Regions from separate parts of the Homo sapiens genome. Here region 1 is linked to region 2. The links are contacts of gene promoters, found by promoter capture Hi-C in blood cells and fetal thymus (Javierre and others, 2016). All regions are on one chromosome and are shown on one strand. Each heading gives the region's core, a stretch centred on a gene start or on the middle of the fragment in contact. The rest is flanking DNA. Distances are from core to core; before and after follow the strand shown.

Evidence for each region. The method cuts DNA at HindIII sites, captures the fragments that hold promoters and counts their contacts. A CHiCAGO score of 5 or more calls a contact.
Region 1: a contact is called between a fragment that was not itself captured here and the fragment with the promoter of FAT4 in region 2, in 1 of 17 cell types (monocytes). The highest score is 6.1, in monocytes.

The regions. Positions count from the first base shown.
Region 1 is chr4:124,293,774-124,296,808 of GRCh38, reverse strand. All of the region lies in intron 3 of LOC105377406 (a long non-coding RNA gene), which reads right to left. Among named protein-coding and RNA genes, the nearest start is that of LINC02516, 260 kb to the left of the region's middle. The HindIII fragment of the contact is 2,684 bases long and covers 1-2,658 here.
Region 2 is chr4:125,313,457-125,316,555 of GRCh38, reverse strand. FAT4 (FAT atypical cadherin 4) reads right to left here and starts at 1,601. Exons shown (of 18, transcript NM_001291303.3): 1 at 579-1,601; 2 at 1-156. The coding sequence starts at 144. The HindIII fragment of the contact is 5,556 bases long and covers 1-2,644 here.

The DNA.
Region 1 (3,035 bases), core at 67-2,566, 1.0 Mb after region 2:
AGTATAATTCTTATAGCATGTATCTAATAATGCCATTATCTGTAGTCTCTAGAAGTTTTTATTGGAAAATATAATGCCTGTCTTCCCAAATAGTGCTCTTACAAAATTCTCTAGTGCTGCTGATTCTTCTGGCTTTTGCTTTGTTTGATTCCTGTCCCTTCATGTGCCTGGTTATCTTGGATTTTGTGCTGCATATTATGTTTAAATTTTATTTGTAGAATCTCTTTTCTAAAAACTATAAAAATTTGTGAAAGAAAATAAAGAAGTCTAAATAAATGGAGAGATATGCCATGTTTGTAGATTTGAACATGAAATAACAGTTACAAAGACAATTCTCTGAAAGTTAATCTATAGATTTAATGTAATCCCAATAAAAATCCTAGAAGTCTTTATATTTTGGTCAACATTGCTAGTAAATTATAAAATTTATGTAGAAATGCAAAGAAACTGGAAAGCAAAAGCAATATTTTCAAAGAACAAAGTTGAAGGAGTTTCTCTACCTTACTTCAAGACTTACTATAAAGCTATACTAATTAAGACAGTTGGGTTTGTTGAAATTATAGACATATGGATTGATGGAATAGAACAGAAAGTCTATAAATAGACCTAAACTTTTACTTCATATTGCGTACCAAAATCAACTCAAAATGGATCATAGATCTAAATAGAACAAGTGAAACTGTAAAACTTTGAGAAGAAAATATGAGAGGAACTCTTTGGGACTTTGGTGTAAAGTCTCTTAGATAGAACTAAAAAAAGGATACACCATCCAAAAATGAAAAATTGGACTTCAAAATTCAAATAACAGAAACACAAACTTTTGCTCTTTCAAAGACACCATTAAGAAAATGAAAAGGCAAGCCATAAGTGGGACGATCATGTTCACAGCATGCATATCTAATAAAGAAATATGTAAAGAATTCTTGCCACACAATAGGAAGAATACAAACAACCCAATCTTAAAATGGCTATAATTTCAAAACAGATTATAGGGAATGGGAGTGAAGACAAATTTAAAAACCACCCAAGTATAATGATGTCTTAGTCAGTTTGGGGTGTTATAACAAAATACCATAGACTGGTGGCTTATAAACAAAAAACAAAGCAAAACTTTTGTCTCACAATTCTATAGGCTGGAAGTCCCACAACCAGGGTGCCAGCATGGTTGGGTTTCGGTCCTCTTATGGTTTGCAGACTACTATCTTCTTTTCATGTCCTCACATGGCACAAGAGCAAGAGAGCTCTCTAGAGCACCTCTTATAAGGCACTAATCCCATTCACAAAGGCTCCACTCTCATGACCTAATTACCTTCCAAAGACCACCACCTCTTAGTTCCATCCTATTGGGGGTTAGGATTTCAACACATAAATTTTGAGGGACACAAACATTCAGTCCATTTCATTACTCCTCTGCTCCCCCACAAATTTGTGTCTTTCTCACATGCAAAATGCATTCATTTCAACCCAACAGCCCCCAAAGCATTAACTCATTCCAGTATCAACTCCAAAAACTAAGGTCCAAAGTCTTATCTAGATATCATCTACATCAAATATGAGGGAGGCACAAGTTATGATTTATCATTAAATTTCTCTTTAACTATGAACATGTGAAACAAAACAGTTACGTGCTTCCAAAATGCATTGGTCAGACAAGCATAAGATAAACATTCCCACTCCAAATACAGAAATAGGAAAGAAGGAAGAGGTGAAGGGTATCAAGTAAGTTCAAAACCCATCAGGGCTCAAGAATTAAACCTTAAGGTTCAAAATAATCCTCTGGCTAACTTCTCTGCCCTCCAGACCCCCTAGAGCAGTGGCCCCATTTCCACAGCTCTGCTGAGCAAGACTCATGTGTTCATGGCTCTTCTGGGCTAGAATCACATGCTGGTGACTCTGCTGGTCTTGGGTCATAGCACCATGACTCTGGGTGGTGACCTTGCCCCCTGGCTCTATTGGGCACAGCCCATGCAACAGCTGTGGCATGGAAGCCCATACCTAAGGCATTGAGTGTGAGCATTCTGGCCCACCTGAATCAGAGAGGATGCCCAAGCCTTTGAAATTGCTCTGTGCCTCTGGCCCTTGCACTCTGAGCCTGTGGTGAAGGAGGCAGCCCTGATTATCTCTGAATCACCTTGTGGGGTAAGTGGTATCATCCTTCTTTATTTTCAAGAACAATGCTTGGCTCCTGTTGAGAGGGCTATTTAGGTTTGTGGTTGAAATGGTCACTTGGCCATACTCCTAATCGTCTCTTCTCAACACACTTTCTCAGTGTTTTCAAAGTGGATAGGCTGAGAATTTTCCAAATCTTTAAATTCTACTTCCTTCTCAACATTTCTGTCTTAAAAGCATTTCTTTCTTCTCACACTTAACTATAATCAGGCAAGAGTAACCAAATTGCTCCTTCAATGCTTTGCTTAGACATTTCCTCGGTTAAATATCCAATTTGGTTGCAAGTTCTACCTTCCACAAAACAGTAGAACACAAACACAAGTCAGTTAATTTTTTTTGCTGCTTATTAATAACAAGGATCTCCTTTTCTCTATTGTCCCATGACATGCTCCTCATTTCCATCTGAAGTCTCAGCAGAATGGCCTTACCATCCATATTTTAGCCAACATTCTATTCATGTTACTTAGGTGTTCTCTAAGAAGATAAGCTTTCTCTATAGTTCTACCCTTTTCTTTCTGACAAGATTCACCTTTAAAATTTTGTTCATGGCTATATCGGATTTGTCTAGCATACACCTGAAAACTCTTACAGCCTCTACCCATTACCCATTACCACAGCTGCTTCCATATTTTTAGCAATTTGTTATAGCAGGACTCCCACTTTTTGATATTAATATCTGTCTTTATTAAATTACAATTTCAATAGTTCAGTAATAAGTAACAAGTTTTTGAATTGGGCAGTTAAGAAATACTAGAAATAAAAAAGCATGTTGAAGTATTTGCTGTGGTAAAGAATCAGGTTTGGCTTCCTGTATCATGACTTTAAGACTGGACATAGAACCAATGAGTAGAAAAGCCATATACTGG
Region 2 (3,099 bases), core at 352-2,851:
CACCTGGCGCGGCTCGGCCCCGTGGACCCAGGCCTGCCCCGGAAGCAATGACAGTAGCCAAAACACTCGAAGGAGCTGAGATACTGATAGAGTGTGCAACGGGAGCCACGGGCGGCCAGTAGCCCTGTCTGGTGCTAAGTCCATGGTCCTGGCTCCCTAAAACGATGTGATAAAGAGAAGGAAGGGGTGAAGCAAACGCAATGATATTTACAGGGATTAAGGAGCGCCAGCAAAGATTCAGCTGACGGCTTGGTCTGAGACCTCTGCTATTTCAAAGAACCTCCAGTCCGGCAAAAGCAAGTAGCATCAGCAAAAGACTCTAGGTAGCCAGTTGAACGCGGAGTGCAAGAGAGATGCTGTGGCGAAAAGCGGCAGGGCATTCCGCGGGACACTCCTGTGAGCTGAGTTCCCAGAAAAGTTTCTCAAGCCTCTTATATATGCCCCCTTTTACTTTGTTTTTGAATCCAGATAGTCTGAGCGTTTTCACCCGGGTGGATGAGAGTTGGGAGAAGTTGCCTGTATCTAAGGTATATGAGGAATCATTGCAAAGAACGGTCTTCAGAAACTTTAGAACTTACCCGCAGCGAAGAACGTGAAGAGGGAGGAACAAACGTCCAAGCACAACTGCGCACCGGGGAAGGGGTGGTGGGGAACCGGGAGAATCGAATTTCTTTCCCAAAAGCTGGAGGCGATGGAATTCCTGGAGTCCCCACTCCTCAAAAACCAGGCTGCAACGCCCCTCCAACAGGGCGCCGGCAGTGGCCGCTGAGGCCCAGGCGGCGGCGTCTGCGCGCAGGCAGTTCGGGAACTGCGTTCCAAGCGCTAGCGTTCGCGCTCTGGCTCCCGTACCCGGGAGCGCTCAACTCTGCCCCTTCCCCTCCTGCAGCCGCCGCCGCCGCCGCCCCTGTTGCGGCTTCAAGCCCGTGGTCCGGCACAAACAACAGCCAGGGCTCCTCGGCATTTTTCACCTCTGCCGGGGCGCCTGCCGACCCATTATTTGTACATCCAAATCGAACGCAGTTTCCCCTTTCTTCTCGGCCTCGCAGGGGTCGGGCAGAAACAGCGTGCGGTCCCCGAGTCGCCCTCCCCTCACCATGCCAGGGGGGGTCGTTCTCCGGCGGCCCCAGTCAGAAGCCCACTCTAGCGCGCCTCGCCCCTGCCCTCGCTATCTCTGCTTTTATTGTCCCGTGTCAGTTTCACTTTGTAATCCACAAGGCTTTTTGTTTGGGGCGGGGGGTGGTTGATGCCTCTCTCTCCTTCACAGTTGGCAGCGGAGGCGGCGAAGTCGGCGCTGGGCTGTAGTGACGCCCTCCGCAGCTCCGGACGGCGCCTGTCAGCGCTCTCCCTCTCGCCGGCCGGGGCCGAAGGTTGGACTGCGGTGGAGCTAGGGCTCCGCGAGCCCTTCTCCACCTCCCGCCTGGTCCCTCACACTCTCCCCGCCCCTTCCCCGCCGCACAGGCATGCACACACACACACATACACACGCACACACACACACACAGCGCGTCGCCGAAACACAAACAGAGGGGGAGGGAAGACCGCGAGCTGGAGCAGCACTCAGAAACTTTGCTCGACACTCATTGATCCCCGCACTTTAGTTCGCCTGGACTCCCCCTAGCTCCCAGTCCTGTCACCTTCTGCCCCTCCCTCGCCCCAGCCCCATTGGGCCGGAGCTGAAGCAGCCCCGACCGGCACTCCTACCGCGAGCGCCCTCCGCCTTGCCCGGCCTCCGACTGGCTTCTCGGGATGCTAATCACTTCAGCCTCCCGGAGGGCTGTAGGCGGTCTGGTGTGGGAGCACAGCGAGGCGGAGGCGCTAAAAAGGGGGGTGATTTTTTTTCTTTTCTTTTTTTTTTTTTTTTTTCCTTTTCGGCCAAATCTTGGCCGGCGTCAGAGCAATAACAGCAAAAGGCTGCCGCAGAATAGATGGGGGTGGGGTCAGGTTTGCAGATAAATAACTTTAGTGGCAGGGTCTGGGGGAAGACCGTTAGGTTGTTATGCTAGTAATAACTCAGGGGTAAGGGGGTCGAGAGAAATAAAAGAAAGGCGGGGGGTGAGGGTCTGTTAAAGCGGGGAGGAAGGATTAAGCAAAGCCTGTCTGGGAATGCACAGTGCAGATTTGCTTTAACCATTTCCTGCCCCTTCTCTCTTTATGCAAGGGATAGAGCTGCCATACAGTGTGATCCCACAGAATCCAAATCAAATCCTCCCCTTTGCTCCTCTTTCTACACAGTGGGCTCCCTGCTGTCTAGGGCGAGCTAAACTCTAAATCTTCACTCACTTGCCCCTCTCCCCCACCTTCCAGGTGACTAGGGGGCAGGAGGCCTCCGTAGCAAGGGCACTTTGGACTTCCTACTATAGGAAAGGCCAGGGGAACTCAGTGTTTGTTTTGTTTTCTTTCCCAACTGGATTCCAGGTGCCAGTAGCCCAAACCTTAGGGTTTCAACAACAATAATAATGGCAGCCCTTTGAAAAGAGGGAGATCTTTTCCTGTTGCAAAGTTAGTTTGGAATTTTGATCCCTGATGGAGTATTTCCACCTCCACATTTTTTAGTCAAAGGAAACCTAATAAAGTTTTATTTTGCTTTTCAGTCTGGGAGAAATAGATACGAGAAAGTAGAAATAAATAAAATAATATTTAAGCTTAAGTTTTTAAAAATACCCACATGCCACTTAATGCACTCAGATCAACTCACCCACTATTCACTGCAGTTAATTTTTGTGGTGGCATGCATCGTTTCTTTAAAAGAAGAAAAACGTTACTAGGAATCAGATCGATATTTTTCCCCTTTAAGGGAACCAACCTAGAAAATAAGAATTCAAGCCAAACAATGCAAATACAGGGCATATGTCATACATTTCTGCCACAAGGATCCCTCACAAACGTAAAACTTTCTGCGCCCAGAGAGGGTTCAGTCATGAGTAAATACTGCCCTCTGCTGTTCTACGTCAGTCTTACATCTTTAGTCTCCTGGTTTCTTGCTTAAAATTAAATGCAGAGACTAAAAGGATCGGATTACAAGGCTAATTCCTGCTTCTTGCCTAGGGATAGCAGCAAAGAAAACGATCTCTAAGACTTTCCTAGTGCCTTTCTTATTTA